Linked DNA regions of Homo sapiens: regions 1, 2, 4, 5, 6 and 7 are each linked to region 3. Evidence: promoter capture Hi-C in human tissues and cell types (Jung and others, 2019). All regions are on one chromosome and are shown on one strand. Each heading gives the region's core, a stretch centred on a gene start or on the middle of the fragment in contact. The rest is flanking DNA. Distances are from core to core; before and after follow the strand shown. Region 1 overlaps KCNH1 (potassium voltage-gated channel subfamily H member 1). Region 2 overlaps KCNH1 (potassium voltage-gated channel subfamily H member 1). Region 3 holds the start of KCNH1 (potassium voltage-gated channel subfamily H member 1). Region 4 overlaps KCNH1 (potassium voltage-gated channel subfamily H member 1). Region 5 overlaps KCNH1 (potassium voltage-gated channel subfamily H member 1). Region 6 overlaps HHAT (hedgehog acyltransferase). Region 7 overlaps KCNH1 (potassium voltage-gated channel subfamily H member 1).

What was found. The method cuts DNA at HindIII sites, captures the fragments that hold promoters and counts their contacts. A contact is called where the count stands out against the background at its distance.
Region 1: a fragment that was not itself captured here is called in contact with the fragment with the promoter of KCNH1 in region 3 in 2 of the 25 tissues and cell types used here (dorsolateral prefrontal cortex and hippocampus).
Region 2: a contact is called between a fragment that was not itself captured here and the fragment with the promoter of KCNH1 in region 3, in 2 of the 25 tissues and cell types used here (bladder and heart right ventricle).
Region 4: a fragment that was not itself captured here is called in contact with the fragment with the promoter of KCNH1 in region 3 in 1 of the 25 tissues and cell types used here (dorsolateral prefrontal cortex).
Region 5: a contact is called between a fragment that was not itself captured here and the fragment with the promoter of KCNH1 in region 3, in 1 of the 25 tissues and cell types used here (H1 embryonic stem cells).
Region 6: a contact is called between a fragment that was not itself captured here and the fragment with the promoter of KCNH1 in region 3, in 1 of the 25 tissues and cell types used here (dorsolateral prefrontal cortex).
Region 7: a contact is called between a fragment that was not itself captured here and the fragment with the promoter of KCNH1 in region 3, in 1 of the 25 tissues and cell types used here (mesendoderm cells).

What each region holds. Positions count from the first base shown.
Region 1 is chr1:210,806,704-210,810,367 of GRCh38, reverse strand. All of the region lies in intron 7 of KCNH1 (potassium voltage-gated channel subfamily H member 1), which reads left to right. Among named protein-coding and RNA genes, the nearest start is that of KCNH1-IT1, 320 kb to the left of the region's middle. The HindIII fragment of the contact is 3,548 bases long and covers 297-3,664 here.
Region 2 is chr1:210,725,425-210,729,108 of GRCh38, reverse strand. All of the region lies in intron 10 of KCNH1 (potassium voltage-gated channel subfamily H member 1), which reads left to right. The region is part of intron 2 of LOC105372901 (a long non-coding RNA gene); the gene reads right to left. Among named protein-coding and RNA genes, the nearest start is that of HHAT, 400 kb to the right of the region's middle. RefSeq lists a silencer at 2,215-2,415. The HindIII fragment of the contact is 3,349 bases long and covers 516-3,684 here.
Region 3 is chr1:211,132,775-211,136,605 of GRCh38, reverse strand. It overlaps KCNH1 (potassium voltage-gated channel subfamily H member 1), which reads left to right and starts at 2,458. Exons shown (of 11, transcript NM_172362.3): 1 at 2,458-2,739. The coding sequence starts at 2,661. KCNH1-IT1 (KCNH1 intronic transcript 1) reads left to right here and starts at 3,232. Exons shown (of 2, transcript NR_046784.1): 1 at 3,232-3,418; 2 at 3,580-3,831. RefSeq lists silencers at 2,277-2,556, 3,051-3,241. The HindIII fragment of the contact is 15,184 bases long and covers 1-3,831 here.
Region 4 is chr1:210,749,069-210,752,587 of GRCh38, reverse strand. All of the region lies in intron 10 of KCNH1 (potassium voltage-gated channel subfamily H member 1), which reads left to right. All of the region lies in intron 3 of LOC105372901 (a long non-coding RNA gene), which reads right to left. Among named protein-coding and RNA genes, the nearest start is that of KCNH1-IT1, 380 kb to the left of the region's middle. The HindIII fragment of the contact is 7,340 bases long and covers 1-3,519 here.
Region 5 is chr1:210,702,907-210,706,223 of GRCh38, reverse strand. The region is part of intron 10 of KCNH1 (potassium voltage-gated channel subfamily H member 1); the gene reads left to right. Among named protein-coding and RNA genes, the nearest start is that of HHAT, 380 kb to the right of the region's middle. The HindIII fragment of the contact is 4,546 bases long and covers 1-3,317 here.
Region 6 is chr1:210,672,429-210,675,772 of GRCh38, reverse strand. It overlaps HHAT (hedgehog acyltransferase), which reads right to left. Exons shown (of 12, transcript NM_018194.6): 12 at 1-1,485. The coding sequence ends at 1,394. Among named protein-coding and RNA genes, the nearest start is that of HHAT, 350 kb to the right of the region's middle. The HindIII fragment of the contact is 4,839 bases long and covers 1-3,344 here.
Region 7 is chr1:210,848,605-210,852,209 of GRCh38, reverse strand. All of the region lies in intron 7 of KCNH1 (potassium voltage-gated channel subfamily H member 1), which reads left to right. Among named protein-coding and RNA genes, the nearest start is that of KCNH1-IT1, 280 kb to the left of the region's middle. The HindIII fragment of the contact is 5,917 bases long and covers 1-3,605 here.

The sequences.
Region 1 (3,664 bases), core at 821-3,320, 330 kb after region 3:
AAAAGGTGCATTATTACGAATTTTCAGAACCTTGTAGAAAGCGTTTCTAGAGAGAAAAAATACAGGTTATAATATGCAGGACAAGGGATCCTACTGGTTCTGACTTCTCAATAGCAAGATAAGGCTGGAGAAATGCTTCCAAAATCCAGAGAGAAATGATTTCCACTTTAGAATTCTACACCAAGCTAAGCTATTAATTGAATATAAGAGTAGACATGTTAGGTCTCAAAAAACTTTGTTCCCATATATCCTTTTTTTCAGAAAGCTATTAGAAGATGTCTCATAAAAAAGAGAGAAAGGGGTAAACCAAGGAAGAGGAAGACAGGAGATGCAGGAATAAGGGGCTCTAACCTAAATAAGTGAAGAAACTTCCTAGGTTGCTGATGAAGAGTGAGAACTAGAAATAAAATTCTAAGTCCCTTCACTGACTAAACAGACCTTCTCTTGGCCAAGGGGACTTCAGAGAAGCCTTGGAAACTGAGTTCCTGGCCATAATAGGATGAGAGGTTAAACATGCTTTGTTATAACCCCTATCTCACTAAACGCCCTTAGTCTTTCTTCCCTAAGACTAAACAGAAACCAGCCCGTTTGAAAGACTCCACCACTGATAATCACTGATGCTGCTCCTCCCTTTTGTGATTTTCACAAAACAGCTGAACTGGATTCCTTCCTGATAAGAGACCACTCACTACAGAGTGGTTCTGGCTAGTCTATGGAGGATGCACAGTGAGGGTTTTCATGTACTCTGCTTTAAAAACTCCATCCTTGGTTCATGCTAATGCTGCCATTTTTTGAACATGGGTCCCATGGGGAAGCATGAAACTCAGTTGTTCACATGCATGTTTCTCTTTTTATGAATATTCATGGTCCCTCCTATAGCTTATTTAATATATATATTTGGCCACCCCATTCACCATACATCTTTGTCTTATTCTTCTCCCTCTTGAAGTGTCTGCTTCTGGTTTCTGGCTGGAGGCTATGCTTCCCAGCCTGTCAGAACAGCCCCCTGCAAGCTGCAATCCTTTATGAGAAATAAAGCTCTCCTTTCCAAATTTATGAACCTTGTCATTTTCAGTTCACAGGAAAGATTCACACAAATGGCAATGGCACAGTTCAGAAGCTTCCAGGAAAAATTTAAGAAAATGAAATTGATAAAGATATGTGTTTTTGCTACACCCTCCCTCCCTCCCCCACCTCCCCAGCCAAATTCCATATAGCTATTTCTAATTAAGGGCTGGAGAATACTATCTTTTTTCTTTCTTTCTTTCTGGGTAGGAATCGCTGTGATATAGTATAAACTCTAAACCACTGAAATATGAAAGAAACCCCTTCTTCTCCAAATCAGCATTTTGCCTTGAGGTTGGGGGAGGTCTCCTTCCTTTCTGAAAATAGAAGGACCCAAAGAATCCACATTTGGAGGCATCCATAACACCTTCTGCACTGGGAGGTTCGTTCTTGCTTTTTTAGTTTCCTGACAGTGGTGTTACAATCTCCCTCCCTTCCTCTCTACATCACACTCATATATCTATTCAGGTGACAACTGGACTTACATGTCTTCTCTCCCAGTTAGGTTTTTAGTATTTAAGGTGTAATGCTTTATATATAAGATACCAATATAAATTAAACGTTACGTGCATGAAAAACATGTAATCCCCCTTCATATAAAATTAGGGGCTGGCCATGGTAGCTCACATCTGTAATTCCAGCACTTTGGGAGGCTGAGGTGGGAGGACTGCTTGAGGCCAGGAGTTCGAGACCAGCCTGGGCAACATTGTGAGAACATGTCGCTATTTTATTAAAAAAAGAAAAAGGAAAAAAAATTAAGGAAGGGGCATTGAGACAATAATTATCCACCTTTAATGTAATAATATTTCATAATAGTAATTGTAATTGAGCAAGGGCCTCCTGAGGACCCTTAACCTTCCAGAATGCCTCAGAAGCACCCTAGAACAAGAGCAGCCCTGAGCTGTAAATGATGGTTGTCCATCCCTGCTTGATGTCTGACCTGCTGCCTGGTTCTCTCAGATCATGGACAAAAGAGCTATTCTTACTATATTGATTTGGTGTAACTATTGTTTTAGGCTCAAGATTAAATTAATTTTCTGGGATCCATCCTAAAAAGAGGCACATCTACTCTTTTCCTGTGACTCCTGGTTCATTGTGAATCAGAAAACAGAGCTGAAGCAGGACTGCCCACATAGGCTTGTTGAGTTAGAGTCAGACTCACTGGAAAAAGACAACTAGCCCATCTCCTGGGAGGATGGTTAGTTCTGACCACACTTCATGTCACTATTGGCATGGAGGAGACAGGACCTTCAACTGCATTGTTATGAGGCTATCTATGAGCTTAGAAGAGCAGGTGTCTGCTTTTTGTCCGGCTCCTTTTGTTCAGATTGACACCACTCCCTGGTACTTTTCCAGAGAACTCTTTGATCCTTGTTTATAACTCTCTTTTGGTGGATTTGTGTCCTCAGTCCTTCCCTTATCTCTAGATCCATGCATTTCTCTCTTATTTTTTTGCCTCCCATAGTATGTCAGCTAACACTGAATAAGATTACTTGGAAGAAATGGTTGTGGTACATCCATACAATGGGATAGTATTCATCAACTAAAAGGAAGGAACTATTGAAACATGCAACAACTTGGAAGATTTTGATGAGTTAAAAAAGACAATCTCAAAAGGTCACATACTGTGTGATTCCATTTCTGTAACATTATTATTATTATTATTATTTATTTATTTATTTATCTTTTTGAGACAGTCTCGCTTTGTCACCCACCCAGGCTGGAGTGCAGTGGCACAATCTTGGCTCACGCAACATGCACCTCCCAGGTTCAAGTGATTCTTGTGCCTTAGCCTTCCAAGTTGCTGGGACTACAGGCATGTGCCACCATGCCTGGCTAAATTTTTTTGTTTGTTTTTTTAGTAGAGACAGGGCTTTGCCATGTTGACCAGGCTGGTCTTAAACTCCTGGCCTCAAGTGATCTGCCCGCCTTGGCCTCCCAAAGTGCTGGGATTACAGGCATGAGCCACTGTGCCTGGCTTTTATAACATTCTTAAAATGACATAATTATAATAAAGGAGAAAAAGGTTGTGATTGCTGAGGGAAGCGTGACCATAAAGGGGAAGCACAAGGAGATCTCTGTGGTGATAGAAGAATTCTGTATTTTGAATGTAGTGTTGGTTAAATGAATCTACACGTGATAAAATGACACAGAACTATACATATACTTTATAGCAATATCAGTCTGTTCTTGATATTGTGCTGTAAGATGTAATTAATGGGGGAAACTGGGTGAAGGGTACACAGAATTTTTCTGTACCATCTTGGCAACTTCTTGTGAATTTTTTTTTTTTTTTGAGATGGAGTCTTGCTCTGCTACCCAGGCTGGAGTGCAGTGGTGTGATCTTGGCTCACTGCAAACTCTGCCTCCTGGGTTCAAGCGATTCTCCTGCCTCAGCCTCCCAAATAGCTGGGACTACTCGTGTGCACCACCATGCCCGGCAAATTTATATATATATATATATATTTTTTTTTTTTTTTTTTTTTTTTTTTTTTGGTAGAGATGGGGTTTCACCATATTGGCCAGGCTGGTCTCGAACTCCTGACCTCAGGTGATCCGCCTGCCTCGGTCTCCCAAAGCTTCTTGTAAATTTCTAATT
Region 2 (3,684 bases), core at 941-3,440, 410 kb after region 3:
AACCCTTTTCTGCCCAAATAGAAGCCCAGCTTCACAGTTTCATGTATAATCTAACCTCAGCCACATTATAGTCCACTGTGAGCTTGCTTTTTCATTTGGTAGCCTTTGGTTCTTACCTGACAGTATTTGCTTTGGCTTATGAGTATTTTGGCAGCAAAGACATCTGAATGTTCCAGGCAATTCGGGCCCTACTAATGAGGGCCCTTTAGCAGGTTGGGATGCAGATTTGGGGTCAGAGAAGAGCAGCATGCCCAGCACAGCTGGTTCCCAGCAAGACATTTGCTGGCCCTATCTATGCCAGGTGAAGTGGCAAAGCCATCAAAATATAGAGCTGTACTTTCTACCTAAGGGGCTGTCTATTCAAGCCTGCTTTTCCTTTGTAAATGCACCTAAAACTGGCTCCTCCTGTTGCTAATCAATATTTAGTGTGGCAGCTGCGTCCCTGGATGGCTGTGTGTGTAAGCACGTGTGTGTGTGCTGGGTGCACATGGGACCTCTGCACACATACCTCAAACCAGCAGTCCCCCATGTCTTTTCCCATTTTAAGTAAATGACATAGAATGACCAGAGAGAAATTTATTTAAGATTTCCATGTCATCAAGGCAAAACGTTAATTCTAAGTCATGTTTGGTAATTGTTATACTGAAATCTATTATTTCACCATTGGTCTTCATTTGTTCATTACTCCATCCTTTTTATCACCTGTCCTACTGTGTGGTCTCTCATTATCATCTATTTATTCATTTCACTATTCACCATTCATTAAGAATTCCTTATGTGCCAGGCACTGGAAATGAAAGTAACTCACAGTCTCTTTCATGTGGTCTCAGGCTCCAAGATTGTCACTAAAGAGGGCACAATGACATTCTGAAAACACACAACTCATCAGAACTCAGACAAGGGGGCCAAGAGTCTTCAGACTCCTAAGCCTACATTCATTATGGCTTAGAGCAGTTGTTTACCAACCTTCCTTCAGGAAGAGCCTATTTTAGAATGTAGGTTCTGATAACAACCCGAGAGATTAAGATTCAGTAGATATTTGATGTTCCCTAGGAGTCTGCATTTTAACAAGTATCAATTGATTCTGGTGCAGGTTGTCTGCTGACCATAGAGAACACAGGGTTAGAACCTCCTGGTCTCATTTGTCCTGATTCAGTGGTTCATTCACAGTTGCTTTGTAGTTTAGATCAGTCTCTTTTGTTTGGAGGATTACTGAGATCCCTTGAGATTAGCTGTGCAGACAATGCAGAGACAGGAGATGTGCTTCAGCGTTTTTTCTTTTAAAGCTTTACTCCTTCCTATTCCATGAGTGCCTTGTGGACTGTTTTGAATATTGGAAAGGGGATGAAAATGTGCCTGGTTCTTGCATGTTAGCTGAAACTGGATTCCAGAGAAAGCTTATTAAATTATTTCCAAAGGACCAAACTCCCTGATTCCTTTATTAAAAGGAGCTTGTTTTGTTTGAGAGAAGGGTAATCTTTTGTGTATCTAATGGCAGAACATCTAGATACATTTTTTTTAGATTGTGAATACCTCATCCTGCTCCTATGCCTATAGTTAAACACACCCTACCCACTATTTCCTCGTGGACAATGAAAAGTTAACCAGAGGACCAGGCTTTGGTGGCTCACACCTGTAATCTCAGCTCTTTAGGAGGCCAAGGTGGAGGATTTCTTGAGGCCAGGAGTTCAAGACCAGACTAGGCAACATAGGGAGACTGTATCGCTATCAAAATATGTATATATTTTAAGCAGAGGCCTTTCTCCTGTGGGCTTATTGAGTAAGATAAGCCTCTATGAGCACATTAGAACTGTCAAATACTTACCATGAAGGAGACTTAGTGGGAATATGCCTTTGCCTTGCTGATCAAATATGGGGCTTTAATACCAAAGTATATACTTCTACATACTTCTCTTTTTCTCCCATTGAAATACACATCTCTGTCTGTGGCCAGAATAGTTTCTCCTACAGTATGAGGAACTCGTGATAGAGTAAGAAAAGACATTTGTGCTCTTCCTAATCCCACACACCATCAAGACATAAGTAATCATTCATCATCATTAGCAATTGTTGACTTTTTAACCCATGCCCAAGTAGGGTCAGCCAGACTGAGAGTGGTGACAAAGGGATGGCCTCCACCTCCCTGAGCTCATTCTGGTTTCTCACTACATTCATAATAAAAGACATGGGAAGGGTTTCCATACCCACCCCTCTCTATTGAGGGTTGAGTAAGCAGGCACTTCTAAGCTGGAACCTGCACTTTTAAATGAATAGAGGAGAGTAGTCCACCCCACCCCCGCCGGGGAACTGTCCATGGTTCTGAACCACTTAGGCATGTTTTTGACTCACCCTGTTTGGGGTTCACTACAGTATGTGAGCAGGAGAACTCACACACTGCTCATTTAATAAAAAGGTTTTATTAAATCCCTCTGCTTAATTACCTGATCCTGCATCTGAGGTTGCTGACTTTAAAATAAGATAAATGTTGTGGGTGACTGGCTTAGGTAAGGGAGCACAGGCTCTGTCCACAGAAAATTTGTCTCTGGGCTGTGAACTAGCCCAAGGGGACCTGAGCATGACCCTGGTCCTGTCAGCATTGAGTCTAAGAAGTTGAGCTTGCCTCCCTGAGATGATTTGCTACATACCTGTCCAAGCTCCCTGACACTTCAGGACCCAGATGCCAACCTGGCAGGGTTCCTTCTGTCCTCTGCATGAATTATTATAGGCATCTGAGAGGGGTCTTTCTTGAGCTATTAGTTGTAATTGGATTCATGAATAATCAATTTGCTCCCAAGTCTCCCCATTTGTTTCTGCTTGCTTATGGTGTTATTGCACATCAGCGAGTCACCAAATAACTTCCTTTTCAGAAGTTGGGCAAGTGCTGCTCCTTGGCTTGTCAGGAGCTGATACCAGGATCCTGTTCATTTACCCCAATTTGTAGCCTCTTCCGGGGAGACTCTACCTCCTTTTGCATTGAAATGGATGAAAATGTTCTTATAAATTTTTGATGTGTTACTTTGTTCTTCCATTCCTTTGTCAAAAAGAAGGCATATAATACACTTTCTATCTGCCAAACTCTGGGAATGTGAATATGACTAAGATGCAGTCTTGTCCTCCAGAAGCTTGTGGCTCAGATAGGCACACAGATAACTATAATATAATGTCACAAGTCCTGTGATTGTCAGAGGTAGGGAAGTCTTTGCAGAGAAAGTGACATTTGTACTGGGTCTTGAAGGGTGAGGAGAAGCCCAACAGACAGAGGATAATGGACATTCCTGACAAAGAACACAGCCCTAACAAGAAGGGAAATATATGGATATGTAAGGGCTGGTTGGGAAACAGAGTAGTGGCTCAGCACGGGGGACTGGGAAGGAGAAGGGGCTAGAAAGCCATTTTCTGAAGAGCCTTGAGAGCCATTTGAAACCTTTGAATGAGACAGGTATAGTCTTAGCTGCCCTGCAGAAATGAGCTTCTACAGCATTAAAAGCCTGTTCATCGTTCATACCTCTGTGCAGATTTCCTCCATTCAAGCTTCTTCTTGTCCAAGAGGGCTTCCCTGATCACCCCCTACCCCCAGACTGAGTTGAGAGAGCCATAGGCAGGTCCATCATTTAGCCACCCATTGGGTTATAATTGCCTTCCATGTTTCAAGCTTTCACACAAGACTGGAAGCTTTCTTAGATC
Region 3 (3,831 bases), core at 1,209-3,708:
GCAGTCAGATGTGTTGTGAGTGAACCAAGGGAATGGGGGAAAAACTGGATGTACCTCCACAGACACCATGAGACACTCACATTGTGATGAAAGACTGCTGACTTTTTAGCAATTTAATTCTTAAATATTTATTTTATTTAAAAATCCATGAACACCTCCAGCTTTTTTTTTTTTTTTTATGGCAAAACAGTTCATTGTAGCTGTTCACGTAGTAATTATCTTCCTCTTGCATCCCCAGGTAATGACTGTGATCTTGACCTAAAAGCCACCTTAGTTAGTTTGAATAAGGAAGACCTTGAAAGGAAAGGTAACTGACCAGAAACACTCTTAAGAAGCACACAATGAAGAAATGATCATTTCTAAGCAAGTACTTAAAGTGCCATAACACAGTATAACAGTGCTTTTATAAGCATCCAGTCTTATTTAAGCAAAAAGACGTAAAATAATGTGATCGTGTTATGGCACACAATCTGGAGGTTTAAAACTTTAAAAAAAAGAACCACTTTGTAGTAGCACTATTTTGTTTTAGGTCTTTTAATTTCTTCAAGTGTGCCACCAAAAATTGTAGTATTCAAAAAGGTGCCAATACACACACACATACACACACACACAGAGTCCATGTTGAGATCCATTTCAGTAGTACATTTAAAATGGAAGACATCTTATTTCTTTTTCTCATCAGGTTGCCCACCAAGGCTTTAACATCTCTGATCTCAAACTAATATCATCTGTTTCCTTTTTTATCTAAGCCACAGAACATGAGAGCTCATTAAAACCTTAGAAATTTTATTAACTCTCTATGATAGTTTTCCCCTCCACATTATTTTCTTTATCTTCCTTTCACAAGCAGGATTATGAGGTTTCTTGATGGGTTTTTAATATTGTCATGAAAAATCTTCCCTTGGCATGTTTGTGCGATAACACAACTTTAAAAACCTTATTTAAATGAACTTATTCAAATGAAGTGGATAGGCACCAAACTGGCTCAGCTCAGCACCAAATACATTTCAGAATCAAGTTCTCTTCAACCAGTGTTATCTCATTTGTAATAGAACAAAGAACCACTAGACGGAGCTAGGGTTTAAGAAATCACTGTTCTAGACTAGGTAACAGGCGATGGGTAGAAGGCTATCTTAAGGAAAAAGTGTATCATTACTTGCATTTCAAATCCTATGACAGTCTTATCCAACTCTCTGCTAACAGCAATCTGTTTACTTTGTCTCTACACAAGACGAGATAAAGGGTGATATTCGTAATGGCCCAATTTATTTAGTCACTCCAATAATGACGTCTGACCTTGGCACAGCACTTTACAATTTAAGGTGCTGTCCCCATACATAATTCTTGCTTGATCTTCACAGCAACTCTGAGAGATTTCTGGGCAAGAATTAGTTCTTCTGTTTTTGAAATTAATTAACTGAGACAGGATGTCTTTGCAATACATTAGGATATGTCAGGATGGCTAACCCAGACAATTAATTTTCAGGGTTAGTTTTTTTTTCTCTTACATTTTTGTGTTGACTGTTGACTCAGTCTGAAACTAGTAAACTCTCCATTCATTTCTCCTGTGGGACATAGGCTTAGTCTCCCACCGCACCGACTGGGGATACATAGTAAAAAGGCAGGTACAGACTATGTGTGGGTCGAAATCCCCCAAAATAAGTGAACAAACGACCGTTGTCTTAGCCCCTGTCCAGAAACCTTGGGTGTATGTGGTTCTTCCGTATACCAGGGGTCAGCTGTAAAAACTAACTGTATCCTCTGCACTACAGACTACCCTTCAAGCCAAAGCCACGGTTGCTTAATTAATGCTGCCCCTCTCCTGAGCATTCGCCCTTAGAGACAAGTCCACCCCTTTGATGTTTGTCAGGCAGTTTGATACTGATCATACCAAACATCAGGAGCCTGCATTTGTGTCTACGGTAAAAACAACCCAAGACAACTCTTCTGAAGCTGAATCTGCCAGTCACTCTAAATCTGCACTATTGCAATACGACTTCATTAATTACTGCTCAAACACTGGCCTAGAATCAAGGTGGGGCAACTTTCACTAGTCAGGCTAACCTTACAGGAAGGCAAGAAGGTGTTCCCAGAGCCTCACAGGTCCCGGGGGCCCCGGCCTGAAACAGAGCAAAGGAAGAGAGTTACATCAGCACGCTCCCCTAAGACTTGTTGGGGGTGAATCCGCCCTGAAAGCTGCTCACAATGCCCTCCTCTCCACCCAGCCCATGGCACATCCTGAACACATTTCCCGGCTGAACCCAGAGGGTGGCGCTGCCGTCCCAGCCTTGGTCCACGGCCGCCCGCCACTTCCCTGCCTCTGCGGGAGCCCCCCAGCTTGGTCTCCCGCAGGCCGGCGGTGGGGCACGAGCCCGGTAGGGGGCGCCGCCGGCCCAGGCGCCGCTGCTCCCTCCGCCCACCCGGAGGCGGCTGCCGCTAGCCGAGGCCGGCGCGAGTGCACTGCGAGGCGGGCCGCAGGGAGGGAGGCGCGAAGAGGGCGCGAGGGTAGCAGCCAGAGGGAGCCGCCAGCCCTGCCTGCGGATCCCCGCCGGGCGCATGGGGCGCTTCGAGCCGGGACTGCGTGCGGGCCCCGAGGCCAGTTTCCTGCTGTCGTAAGAAGCCGCGCCAGGACGCCCGCCGGACCCCGAGCTGCTGGGAGGATGACCATGGCTGGGGGCAGGAGGGGACTAGTGGCCCCTCAAAACACGTTTCTGGAGAATATTGTTCGGCGGTCCAATGGTAAGAGGTGCATTCGGATTTCGATTACCCGGGCGTTTTATCCGTGCCTTTATTGCAGAACCTCTCGCCGCTCGGAGCCAGCAGATGCAGCAGAACCCGCGAGCTCTGCTAAGGAGCCGCGGCGCGGGCACCCAGGGCAGCCTCCCCGAGGCAGAGAAAGGTGGGCAGGGCGGGGCGGGGTCTGATGGGTCCCCATCCTAACAGGAGAGCTCTTCTGGGGACGCCTTTTGGGCCTTTCTAGCGCCCTCTCGGTCTTATCTCCAAGGATGCGTGACAGCTGCTGAGCAAAGTACTGGGAAAAGTGATGGAAAGCTGGCTGCAGCCGGAGCGGCAGCGCGCGCCCCATCGGCACTGCCCACCCTTCCGCGAAGGCTCTGGGGCTCCCGGGCTGCTCCCAGAGGCGCCGCCTCTCCCCAGGGAGAGCCAGCAGTAGAGACGGGCAACTCCAGGTCCCCGCTGCCTCAGAATGGGAGGATCCGGCTGCCTCCACCTTCCATCCCTGCAACTGAAAAGTCCGAGGTGTCGGGACGTGCTCTCGGCGGCCTGATTCCACCCCTTCACCCACCCACCACTTTCTAGGTGAAGTTAAGGCTCACCTTCGAAGTGAGGGGCAGATGGTTTTCCTGGCGTCAGGTGGGAAGTGGAGGGCACAGGTGCAGAGCGAACTAAATGGTCACAGGTACAAACCTGTTATATTTCCCCTCTTCCAAACCCACAACGGTTTTATGCCACCCTTAAGTGTTGCTCACCTATAAATTCCCAATCTCACCAAACCTATAAATAGATCCATTACCCAATAAACTGACAATCAGCACTCATCTGTTTCCTTGTGGCATTAAGATCGACGGTAGCATGAAGCCTTGAGAGGCGAGAGTCCTAGGAGCGGGGATGGAAAGGAAGAATTCCAAACGCCTTTCGGACTTAACAGAGGAGAGACCCCAACTAAGCACTTGCAGAGCGACTAGGAGTCCTGGCAGTTGGAAGGCGCAGCGCACGAGTTCATCAAATGGCTATATTGAAAGATAGCCAAGCATAAGATGCTCTTTGCAGACTCCTAGAGCCCCCACCCCACCCCTTCCAGAAACAGATGAC
Region 4 (3,519 bases), core at 721-3,220, 380 kb after region 3:
TTTTTATGCAGAAAATATTCTTATGTAAACTGTGTTTCTTCTCCCCAGAAGTTCTTGGAAGAAGGTCCAAGTATTTGGTTAATTGACAGTTCCTTTGACTCTCAGAGTAAAATATCAGCTTCCTTTGCCTTCTCATGAAGCGCAGCTACATAGAAACCAGTGGAACTCTCTGCTTGACGGAGAGATTCACAAAGCACAGCGGACATCAGGATCTCAGGAAAGAGATTTGTGTTAGACATTAGAGCTTCCGGCTGCCAGGAGTTATGAGCTGGTGGTAAGTGATACCCAAGGAGTTATGGACTCTCCTTCATTATAGCTGGTTAAGAACAACCTTTTGTTGACTTTCAAGCTCTGATCTCTGTCCTTTTCTTGTTCTAAAATCTTCGATGATTCCTTACAGCCTTGGAGTAAAATCCAGACCCAGGGATCTTCTATAAACTTGTATTTCCAGTTGCAGTTCAGATTGTATCTTCATTCTTTTGCCTGATACCTTTGCCCCACTGGGCTACAATAGTTACAGAACATGCAGTGTACTCACTTCGGCATGTCCTTCACACTACCTTACCTCCTCCCATCAAAACCCAATCTGGCCTTCAAAATCCAGCTCAGATTCTGTTTTCTGCTTGCAGCCTTCCTCAGTCTACATCCAGCTGGAATCTCTCTCTTCTCTAATTTGTGTTTCCATGGTGTTCTGCTTGTCCTTTAGAGCAGGTATCGCCTATGGTTTCTTATATGGTTCAGCACATGTCTAATATTTCTCCTGGATTTGGGGGCTTTATTCATATTTTTATTTCTTGCATTTCTTCATACAGTGCCTCAATGTTGTAAACAATAATTTAAGCTACTGGAACCACAGCTAAATTTCCACTCAGCCTTTGCACTTCAAGTCAAAAGTTAGTGAGGATTCCACCCTCACATTTTCAGCCCCCCTCTTCTCCTACCTCTCAGCAGCAGGCACCCTCAGGTCCAGCCAGGCCGCTACCCCAGTGGCCCCTACCCACTACACCAGGGTGACTAGCTGTCTCACTTTGCCTGGAACTGTCCTAACGTTAGCACTTAAAGCCTTGCATCCTGGGAAACCCCTTAGTCCCAGGCAAACTGGGATCATTGGTTGCCCTACTCCACACTTAGCCTCTTCTGACTCTTGCTAAAATTCTTAAAATTGAATTTTATGTCCAGGCTCTATCTTCTTCTAGTCATTTGTCATACAGCCACTAAAACTGCTTTCTTCGTGTGAGGATGGGCATCTAGTCCTGGCTCTGTCCCTGCACAGCCCTCCCAGCTCTTCTGTCAAATGCAGCCTCATCAATGTGATTTCTGAGCTTGCGTCCAGCTCATCAGCCTCCTGACCTTCTCTCTCTTCTGCTCCACCTCAGCCCAAACTGTAACTCAGTCTATGTAGATGACCCTCTCAGTTTCCTACACCACATCAAAGAGGGCCTGGGAGTACTGGAACCCCAGACATAACTCTCCTCTCTATAGAACCACAACTCAAAGATGCCTCCTCCAGAAAGCTCTGCCTAGGAAACTCCTACCAGCTTAGCACCAGTCCATTATTCTTCCTCTGGAGGCTCTTAAGTGACTGAATTGATCAGTGTCTCTTAAGAGAAGTACCTGTTGCCCTGGACTAGGTGCCAGAACTTGGATTCTACTCCAAATTTGCCACCAGGGCAAGTTCTTAACCTCAATTGTGTTCATTGTAAAATGAGAACATTAGATGAGCTCTCATATTTTTAAGAGTCATCCCAAACTTGGATTCTAATAGTATCTGCCCATCCAGTTTGCTCTGGAGAGTGTAAGATACAAATGTCTTAAACAAGATGGCATTGGAAAGAGGCTTCCGAAATCCCATCTTACATTGGCTCATTCCCTGCCACCTGTCCCTGCTTGACTTGTAATTCCTATCTTTATCTTTTGATTCCCCTGTAATCCCATCCTGGCCCAGCCAAAAAAGCTACCACCTACAGCTTAAGAGATTTGACAGTATAATTAGAAGACCAAGATTCCTTCCTGTGACTTGGCTTATGAAACTGAAGATTTGGGATGAGCAGTTAGATTCTTAAACCTTGTCCTGGGCTCAGTTTCTACCAGACCCAAAATTATGTCTGATTTTTCCCTTTGTGCCCCAGATAAACTCATCAGGACCTACTTGTTGCTGCCTTTAAATGTTTTCGATGCAGCTGAGTCTATTGAAGTAACAGGCTGGGTGACCTTCCTGGCTTAGAACTCTAAAATGTGTGCAAGTCCTCGTGTGTGTACAGGACACAAATAGCACAGTTAGCGTCTGTACTCTGCTTTACTTTGGACAAGGCACTTTCACATATTTTATCTTATCGGATCCTTGCTACAACTTTATGAGGTTGGTATTATTGTTATTATCCCTATTTTTCCATTTGGGGAATCTGAGGCTCAAAGGAGCAAACTGTGGTATGTGGGAGTGTGTGATCAAATCAGAGCTTGAAGTCACATCCTCAATTCCAGATCCCATGCTCTTTCTGCTGCCCACATTTCAGCCCACGTGCCTGCAGTAAGATAGCAAGCAGCCAGCTGGACGCGGCGGCTCACGCCTGTAATCCCAGCACTTTGGGAGACGGAGGTGGGCAGATCACCTGAGATCAGGAGTTTGAGACCAGCCTGGCCAGCATGATGAAACCCCATCTCTACTAAAAATACAAAAATTAGCCAGGCATGGTGGTGTGTGCCTGTAGTCCCAGCTACTCGGGAGGCTGAGGCATGAGAATCACTTGAACCTGGGAGGAGGAGGCCGCAATGAGATGAGATCACGCCATTGTACTCTAGGCTGGATGACAGAGCGAGGCTCCATCTCAAAAAAAAAAAAAAAAAAGTGAGCAGCCTTGGCTCCTGTCATGCAGGGGTCCTCACAACATTCCACTGACAGAGGTGGCCAAGGGAAGTTGCCTATGTCCCAAGTTATTTCTATAAACTGGTGTCTCTTAACCTGTAATCTGCACACAAATCATCTGGGATCTTGTTAAAAATCAGGTTCCAAGTAGGTTCCAATTCAGTAGGTCAGGAGAGGGGTCAAAATTCTGCATTTCTAATAAGCGCCCAGGTGATGCTGTGTTGCTGATTGAACACCCTGACACTGAGGACTTGGGCATGATATAGAACTGTTCATTACCACTAGGGCCCTGTGGGTATTGCTCATGCTGTCTGTTCTTTGCTGTTAGGTTTCCCCCATACAAGGTTTTCTCTCTCTAGTGAAAATCTGGCCATCCATTATCTCCTTTTACTTAAAAGCTCAGGTAAAATCTCTCCCAGAAGCCTCTCTTGGGAGTTCTATATGTTTCTGCCTCTCTGTTTGCAGGCAGTGAGCCTGCCTGGGCTCTGAGGTGGCCTGAGGTAGCTTTCCCATCCAGCCAAGGGAACTGAAGAACTTTCTTATTAGGATTCTTTTTGAGGGGCTGGGTGGACATAGTGGGACCCTGGTGGCATTTGAGCAAGACGAGGGACTGCAGGGTATCAAGAGCCAAGCCTCTAAAATGAGGCCAAACCTGG
Region 5 (3,317 bases), core at 477-2,976, 430 kb after region 3:
AAGCCTGAGTGAATCTGGAAGGGGAACTTCCTCTTCCTGTTTACTACAGAAGGCTTTGTGGAAGAGGGGAAATTTCAGAATGAATTAAACTAGTGACGAGGTTTAGAACTAATTGGCAAAAGGACAGGATCTGGAACCTAACTCTCTGGGTTCGAGTCTTGTTGCTTCCACTTAACCACTCCAAGTCTCAATCCCTTCATCTGTCAAATGGGGCCAGTGATAACACCTACGTTAGGCTCATTGCAAGGGTAAAGTAAAATACAATATGCAAATATCACCTGGCTCTTAGCATTCAGTGCTGCTGCTGATTATGATTATAGTCAGAGGAACACTGTTTAGGGCTGGCCTGGTGTAGAAGCAGAGTGGGATTAGGATCGAGGTGCCCAGATACTGGGGAGACACACAGCATAACTAGGCAGTGGGGGAGGTAAGGAAGGAGAGATGGCTGATCACAAGAGGAGACCCTGACTTAGAGCTACAGAGCATGGGGGAAATGCTGATCCCATAGGAGGAGGGAAGACCAAGGAGAGATCAGGAGACCTCAGAGTTGAAAGCCCTGAGATCCATCATCTGGGCACTTTCCTTTTATCATATCTTCAAAGCAATGGTGTCAGATTTAGAGTGGTTTTAGCCTCTTTTCTTTTTTGGCTATGGAAACTAAAGCCAAATGGGTTCTACCTCTGGGCCAGGGTCGACCCTCTGGCTTCAATGGGACCAGAATTCTGCTCCCCAGCTCCTGGGACAGCCAGCCCCAAGACTCTATCACTGTTGCTTGGATGGATGCTGTTTGGTTAGCCTAAAATTACACCTCTCTGGAAGTTAGTTTTCTCTGTCTGACCTCCATGTGTTACACTAGGTGAATGTTAAACCCCCAGGGAGGAGAGACTTGTGAGGCCTGCAGTTCTTCTCTGCCAGCTTTGTCAGCAACTCAGGGGCTTGAGCAAGTGGACGAATGAGAATCTGCAGGCCTGCAAACTGGCCTCCTCTGGAGAAGCTGGCAGGTCTTGCCTATTTCAGATACTTCTCAGCGGGTGCCCTCGGCTCTTTTCCCCACCCTCAGCCTGGCAGGGAGTGGTAGAGGGGAGGGAGGATGAAATGTGTCTTTCTTTCTTCAAAGTTGGTAATGCAAGTGAGATCAATTCTTGTCTCCTGCGCAGGGGCCGCCCCACCTCCCTACCTTCCTCTCCCCATTTCCTGCCCTGGAAAATTCAGACCAAGGACCCCCTACCTCCACCCAACCCTCCCAACCTTCAACCCCACAAACCCCAGAGAAGGGAAGGAGAGCTTGGGCTTGCAGTCCAGCAATGAGGTTTCTAGATGAATCATTTGCCGTCCCTGGCTCTGCAAAGTGTGTGTAGGGAGGAATGGTATTGACCAGTTGCTCTCCATGTGTGTGAAAGAGTGAGCCAGTGGAACTGGGTTTAAATAAAAGACCAAATTATGTGTAGGTTTATAAATTTACTGTTAGATGATTAGATACAGGTTTGGCTACTGAGGTATATATGGACTTTTAACTCTAAACCTTCAAAAGGAGAATAGCATTTGGGTTTGGAAGAGCCATGGATCTTGTCTCTCTCAGCCTCTGTCATCTCATTTATACAAAATAAGGACACTTGCCCCATATATGTGATCCCAAATGAGATAATGTGTGTGCTGGCTTTCTGTCAACCACAAAGTAGGAACAAATGTCAATTTTCGTATTGCTAATAATGGCAGAAGTAATGGCTGTCTTCATGGGATAGTTTAGAAAGTCACTGGCCTGAAGACAGAGCACTAGACCAGGTCCCTTCCGGTTTTAGCATCACCCTTGGACTCCTCTGCCTTTGTTATCAGAGGAAACAAAGGAGTTGACATAGGAGTGAATTGAAGGAAAGGCTGTGATAGGCCTACTAATCTTCTAGGCGTGGCGATTGTTATTAGAAATGAGGTTGATAACCTAAACGCTGAAATGGCCAGGAAGTCAAGGACCCTCCTGCTATTGAGACAGCAGAGCATTGTACTGCTCCTCAGCCCCCTCCCTTCCTTCAGACTTCACAGTAGGGGCAGGAAGAGCTGCTGCCTTCGACACATGTTCTCAGGTGGCACCAGAAGCTTTCCCCACCCTTGACCCAGGGAGATTGAATTGTGATGTCTGCTCTGGCCCAGGGCACCTCTCCTTGCCCTGGCATTGTTTTCTTACACTAACAGCTGGGCACTGGTGACAGTCCTGGAGAGGTGTGTCTTGTCTCTCGTAGAGCACTTGGCCTATGGGGGTGCACGCTGCACTTTATCATGGAGCACCATCTTTGAATACTGACATTCCCCTTGCTGGTGCCTGAATTCTAGCTGTTCCTTCTATGCCCTCCTGCTCTGGGGCTGGGCCAATTCACAGTATAATTAATTAGAAACTAAGCACAAGCCCGAGATTACAGATTTTACATACAAATGGATACTGTCCCTCAAAGATCAGGTGTTTCATGACCACACACTTCTTTGTGTCCTGCTCTATGCAGGGCCCTGGAAGGGACACAGAAATATAGTCTCTGTCCTCAGAGATCTTATGGGAGAGTTAGTTAGGAAGGCAGCATTTAATCTTGTCTTTTGTAGCATTATCATTGAAGAAAAACATAATGACACAAGCAAATATATGTTAATAAGTAGCATTTATTAAATGTGTACTAGTTGTGTGTTTGTTAGGCACTTTAAATGCATTATTTCTTTTAGTCCTTGCAATTACTGTATAAAGCAGGTAGGCACTGTTACTAGCTCTATTTTATAGATGAGAAATCTGATATCCAAAAGGGTTAAACTTGCCAGTGATGTATGAGAAGGCTTGTTTCCCCACATCCTATTATCAAAGTGTGGGGTGAGACTTCTGGATTTTGAGCAATCTGATACATTTCAAGAGTGGTATTTTTTCATATGCTTACCAGTCATTTAAATTTCCTTTTCTGTGATCTCTCTTATCTATTCTAAAAATAGGAATATTGGTGTCTTTTATTATTTTTAGGAGCAGTTTTTGTCATAAATTACAAGTATTTTCCCATTTTGCCATTTGTCTTTTAACTTGCACATGTTGTGCCATGCAGAAGGGATTTTTATGGACCCAAATTTATTTTTATTTTATGACTTCTGGATCCTTAGTTAGTTAGAAAGGGCTTCTGGTATATATTTTAAAAATTAATTAAAATAATAAAATTGTGTTAAATGTGGGAGATTAGCCACAAACATCTATTTCTTCACTTTCCAGAAAACCCAATGAAATGATATAAAAACAATTTTTTAAAATATAGAAACCTAGAAGGACTAATTTGTTAAAACTTGGGAGAAGAGAAAGT
Region 6 (3,344 bases), core at 150-2,649, 460 kb after region 3:
CAGGTAGTCAGTATCTGGCCCCCTCCCATCTCTTTGCCAAGCAGAGAAGCTATGAAGAAAGACAATCAACAAAATGGTCCTGTACTCTAGGAGCTAAAGCCTCATTGAGATGATAACCTCAACTCAAGACATAAGGGCCATGCTATGTAATAAACAGGAGGCAGCACTAGGTCCAAGTGAACCTTTCACTCAATGACAACTTAATTTACGTACTTGAGATGTTGTAAATTCTCCTGTAATTAGATATATTATGGATTCAAATTTTAAGCCTCCTTTATACCCTTCCCCACTCCAAAAAAAAAAAAAATCCAAATTCAAACAAGTCTTCTGAATTATCTACCACTTGGGAACTTTGGTAGCCTATCCAGCATCTTTTCAGAGGAGTGAATAATCAAGTTATGTGAGTATATTTAGATTTTAAACATTTTCCTCAAACATATTCAAAATAATTCTACAAACATGTAGATTATCTACAGGACAGAAAAGGCTCTGTTTGAATCAAACCTTAATAATATAAACCACTAAACGTGAATCACTGAGTAGGAGGATGACTTTTGAGACTTGTATGGAGAGGGTGGACAAGACTCCAGGACACCATCCTCATGACTGGCCTTGATAACACCCATCTGTGGGTACACTATCCTGTGGTTTCTAAATTCTGCTTCTTTATTAAGAAACGATTAACTGTAAGGTAGAGGAACTACCATGTTATACTTCTCTGCAAATCTCAGAAACAAGCACCCAAATGTAGATCACCCTGCTGAAGCTCAGATCACAGGACTCCTTGGGTATAGATGCCTTAGAATGCTACAGGGCTGCTACCGTCTTCTTCGACTACGTAATTCAAAAGACAGCTGTGGCTTGGTCTCATTCCTACAGAGGGGCTGAAGCATGAAACTCAAACCCTAGTGCTGCTTCTGGAGATACTGCAGGATGTGATGAAGGAGGTCACTTAAACATCAATGTCACTCAAATATTTTAGAAATATTGCCCAGAAGACAGGCCTATCACTAATCAGGATTTCTGTGTCTCAATCAATAAATTTCCACTACATTCTATTCTTGCTTAAGGGGAAAGAATGCAAAGGGCTCATGAGACTAGGTTCTAGACCAAAATGTCACCCTGTGTAGCTGGGTAAGACACACGACTGCCCTGGACCCGTTTCCTCAATAGGAAAATGATGAGTTGGGGTAGAAGATCTCAAAGACTCCAGATTAGAAGATTGTCTGGCTGTGAATTTTCTATGAGATCCAGCATCCAGTCTTGGAGTGAGGGCATTCAACTGAAGATGAGCAGATCAAATCCCTTAGAGGCTGTCCTGGAGTGAGAGGTCAGGGTGAAGCACTATTTGCCTTGGAGGCCAGCAACAAGGACTGGCCTGGGCCCAACAGCATTAGTCCGTGGCGTAGGTCTGGGCCCAGGCAATGCCCACGTGGGAGTAGCAGTACAGGAATCCCAGGACAGAGAGGGTCACCCAAGGCCAGCCTGCAGAGGGAGGACAGAGATGGAAGAGCAGTTAGAAATGCTTGGGGCAGGACATCCCACATGGGCAAACTGTCCCCTTTTGGAGAAGGCAACCTGACAAACAACAAAGGCCTCCAGGAAAGTCTGCTGTAATGACAACTTCAGCAATTGAGTCCTACATTCCCATCAGAGTCAGCATAAAATGAGGAGTGCACTATTGCAAACACAAACCATGTTTATGACGAGTTAGTGGGTGCAGCGCACCAGCATGGCACATGTATACATATGTAACTAACCTGCACAATGTGCACATGTACCCTAAAACTTAAAGTATAATAAAAAAAAAAAAAAGAAATAGGGCAAGCTTTTAACGAATCCATGTTTAGAGCCAGGCACCTGTAATCCCGGCACTTTGGAAGGCTGAGGTGGGAGGATCACTTGAGTCCAAGAGTTGGAGACCAGCCTGGGAAACATAGTGAAACCTCATCTCTACCATAAATAAATAAATAAATAAATAAATAAATAAATAAATAAATAAATAAATAATAAATAAGCCAGGCATGGTGGCATGTTTCTGTAGTCCTAGCTACTTGAGAGGCCAAGGAGGAAGGATCACTTGAGATCAGGAGTTAGAGGTTACAGTGAGCTATGAGTGTGCCACTGCACTCCAGCTTGGGCCACAGAGTTAGACCCAGTATTGGTTTAAAAAAAAAAAAAAAAGAAGAATCCACGTTTAGAGGACTAAAGCAGTTAGTAATTGAAAAAGGAAAAAAGTCCATGAGTCTGAGTGTAGTCTCATGTGGCACTGTAAACATGTAGGTCATGTTCCAAAATCTGTACTTTTAGATGAGTTGTTTGAAATCAGGGTACGTTTCCCCCTAGAATAATATTGTGTGATTCATGGACAAGACACAAAAATCACCGTCATCATCACCGTTGTGTGTTTTTTTTTTTAAACTTGTAGTAAATGTGAAATAACACTAATAGGAGCTCTGAGCCCTGGGGCACTTAGGTTCCAGAAGCCCAAATATAGGGTCCTCTGTCCTTCTTGGTCAGCCTCCCCAGAGGTTTCAAGAATTCTAAGTGGTGAGGGGTGGGATAGAGACATGCAGACGTGGCTTGTCCTTGGCAATGAGACAGGAAGGCGCCAGCAGCCAAGAGGGAAAGGGTGCCGGGCAAGATCAGGAGGGTCATTTGATTGGGGCATCACAACATTTCACAGAGAGCTTTATAAATTTAAATTTTTGACATTTCTTTTGAATATGGCTAGCTAGGAAGTCATTACCTTTGTCAATCCAATTGTGTGTGTTAAAAGAAACGAACGACTGTGAAATGTAGGCATTTACAATGAACTACATTTTTTTCTTAAAGTCCATGAGTCCCATAGTAAATCTCAAAATGTAGATTAAGCATTATACTGAATTTAGTGCCATTTGTAAGCACACAGAAGGGGGAGCCTAAATTAAATATTTGCTTTCAAAACTGAAAGCTTTTAGTGATTCCCTCTACAAATACTTGTCTTAGAATATCTGATGTTCTTTTCTTTTTCTTCTTTTTTTAAAATTAACAGCCCTTTCTGCTGAGTATTTGTTACTTAACAATCTTCATGTCTTCTGCATGTTTCACTTACTCAAACATTTACTGGGGGCTTTGGAGAGCCAGAGATGCTGGGGAAGATACAAGATGCCGAAAGGGAAAGACACAGTCCCATGTCAAAGGCACTCCCACTCCAACTTGGGAAAGACACACACATACACCAGTGGGATTTATGATCATGTGGTAAGCACTAGATGATGGAATGCACAGAGCACATTTAAACTGGGCCACGTGGGCTGAGCAAGAGTTTGTCAGATGGGAAGGGACAGGGCCCAGCTACTAGA
Region 7 (3,605 bases), core at 852-3,351, 280 kb after region 3:
TCCCCCTTCTCCACTGTTTTCTCTGATGGCTTTTCCTCCTCCCTCACACATACTCCCCTTAGAGATGCTTTCTGTACCTCCAGAGGGAAAAAGCCTCATTCTCCATCATGCTTTCTTTCTAAGCACATTGTTTTTTTATTCTTCCAAACACTTCTAATTTGTAAATATATATTTGTTTCCTTATTTACTCTCTTTCTCTTCTGTTAGTCTTTAAACTGTGTGGGGGCAAAGGCCAAGTCTGATTTGCTCACCAGAATATCCTTAGCATTTAGCATGATTCCTGGCATGTAGTAGGCAGGGACTCAGTAAATACAGTCATGTGCCACATAACATTTCACTCAACAACAAACCGCGTAAAGGATGGTGGTTCCCATATGTTATAATACCATATTTTTACTGTGTCTTTTCTATGTTTAGGTATTTGTAGATACCCAGATACTTACCATCGTGTTATTATAGCTTACAGCATTTAGTACAGTAACAAGGCGTACAGGTTTGTAGCCTAGGAGCAACAGGCTATACCACATAGCCTGAGATTATAGTAGGTATCCCATCTAGGTTCATATGAGTATACTCTATGATGCTCACACAAGGATGGGATCACCTAAAAATGTATTTCCCAAACTGTGTCTTATTGTTAAGTGACACAAGATGGTATTTATTGATTTTTGAATAGGTATATCTCCAATTGATGAAACTAAAGGTCAGAGAGGTAATGTGACTCTCAAAGTTACCCACCTAGTGAATGGCAGAGGTATGACACTAATCTAGTTCCTGACTCTCAAATCCAGTGTTGCTTCACTTTACGGTGTCGTGTGACATTTATTTTAAGAACATAGCTTTCCTACCACACTGTTGGGATGATAGAAGTAGGTTATTTTGGCTGTAATAGTTATGTCTTAGCTCAAGAAATGAGAAAGTGAAAGAACAAGGTACCCAAACACACTAGACCAAGAACACTTTGAGGGAGACAACAACATGTTCTCTATTAGTTGGGAGCTTCTTGGGCTCAGGAGTCATCACTTTCCAAAGGCTGGCAGTGCTGTGACCAGAGAGAATCATTTAGCATTATTTAGTCAACTCAGAGAGAAAGCTGGATTAACTCCTTTTTCTGTGTCCCAGAGCAGACAGCACATGGCTTTGTCTTCTGAGGATACGTGGGCCATGAAGACAAATATTGAACAGCTCTTTAGGTGAGTGAGAAGGTTGATTTGGCAGCATGAGAATGCAGAGAGCTGCCTGCTCTCTTGCTGTGCCTGAAATGACCTTTTTGTGCATGAAATGAGAGATACTGAGCATGGCTGTTGGAGGCCAGTAGGCTCTAAAGAGGTAGAAGAGACATCTGGAACAAGCTCTAGAAAGTAGGCTTTTGATCTCCCCCAGGATGCTGATAAACAAAGCCTATTTTCCCTTTCCTCTGATGAAAAGCTTTATTGTGGCTTTCACTCACTGTGAATCATGATGTTAGAGTGGCATTGTTCTGCCTCTTGGCTTGCTGTTGAGACTGCTGTGTCAGGCCTGAGCTGGTGCCCCAAAGTCCCTCCAGAGTTCTTGCTTTGCCAAGGCCAAGCTAGCAGAACTGTGGGAGGAGTGATAGGCCTGCACATCTCCAAAGCCCCCTTTGGATTCAGCAGTTAATTTCTGGGTTCTGCATTTAACACAGATCCAAATGCTTTTTTAAAAAACATTTTTTCTTTTTGAGACAGAGTCTCACTCTGTCATCCAGGCTGGAGTGCGGTGACAGGATCTCGACTCACTGCAACCTCCGCCTCCCGGATTCAAGCGATTCTCATGCCTCAGCCTCCCGAGTAGCTGGAGCTACAGGTGCGCGCCACCACGCCCAGCTACTTTTTTTTGGTATTTTTTTTTTCTTCAGTAGAGACTGGGTTTCACCATGTTGGCTAGGCTGGTCTTAAATCCTGACCTCAAGTGATCCATCTGCCTCAGCCTCCCAAAAGGATGGGATTACAGGCCTGAGCCACCGCACCTGGCCCCAGATGTTTTTAGATAAAAGTTAATTATTTGCTTCATCTCTTCCTGCTAATCAGTGTCTTTCACAGCTCATGTATGAGCCTTGCACTTAGAGCTGCAAGTGTGCAAGTGACCTGCACACTTAGAGCTAGGGGAATGGTTACATTCTATCTAGTTTTGCTCATGATAATTTTGGTCACGAAGGAGATGCTAAAATTTTCTTTTTTTTCCCCACATTTTATTCTTTTTTATTCTGTAGATTTAACATGTCAATTATATCTTTATTTTTATTTATTTATTTTTTAAAATTTTATTATTATTTATTGTTCCTTCTAAGACACACAGTGCTGTGGTTTACCATGTGCTCCATGGACTTACACTTAAATCACAGACAGTAACAGCAGGAAGGGATTTATTGGTCATCTTTTCAAGGAGTTTCCACCCTGGGCTGTGGGCAAGTTTGGGAAAGGGGTGGGGTAGATGGAGCTCCTTCTTCTCCCATCTAAGTAGCTATTCTTTGTTTTACATATTGAACTTCTATTTGAATTGTTGCTTGATTAAAAGGCTCATGGCAGCTGGGCACAGTGGCTCATGCCTGTAATCCCAGCACTTTGGGAGGCTGAGGTGGGCGGATCACCTGAGGTCGGGAATTTGAGACCAGCCTAACCAACATGGAGAAACCCCGTCTCTGGTAAAAATACAAAACTAGCTGGGTGTGGTGGTGCATGCTTGTAATCCCAGCTACCCAGGAGGCTGAGGCATGAGAATCGCTTGAACCCGGGAGGTGGAGGTTGCAGTGAGCTGAGATCATGCCATTGAACTCCAGTCTGGGCAAAAAAGAGCAAAACTCCGTCTCAAAAAAAAAAAAAAAAAGAAAGAAAGAAAAGCACACACACGCAAAAAAAGGCTCATGGCTTAAAACCATGGTTTGACAAACTCTATTCTAATTCAAATCCTCCAAGGAGGCAATGGTAATCCAAATGAATCCTTACAGAAATTCTTAGAGGGAATTCTGTTGTTTTTAATTTTGTCTGAATTGTATCCATATAGTAGAATGTTTATAGGATTCTGTACAAGTATATGTATATTTTAATATGCACACATAATACACATACACATGTATGTATATGTGTAAGGCCAGGTTCCAATGCTCACATCTTTAAAGAAGGAGTTGATATCCTTCTATCTAGAAGTAATCTTGCATTGCCTTTTAGTGTACTACTTAATCTTTTTTTCTCTTAAAGTTATTTTACTTTGCCTTGAATTGTAATTAGTTGTGTACATTTCTTTCTCTGCTATACTCTAAGCTTTTTAAGGTCTAAGACACTTAACTCTTTACCTTTGTAACCTCTATAACACCTAATAATGTGCTCTGCCACACATGCAATTAAGGAATCTGTAGTTTATTTGAGAAGAATCATAAAGTAGAAAAAAAATTGAAATGGGGGCCCAGTTGGTAAGATGTTATTATGAAGTCAAATATATAGTATATTATTATGAAGCCAAAATTTCATGCTTGGGCCTCATAAGAACCTAATTTATTTTTCATACAGAAAAATGTCACGTGACCAAGATTCTATCTTGACCAACTATCTCGCAGATTTATGCTGTTATTCAAAAGATGGGACAGAGAA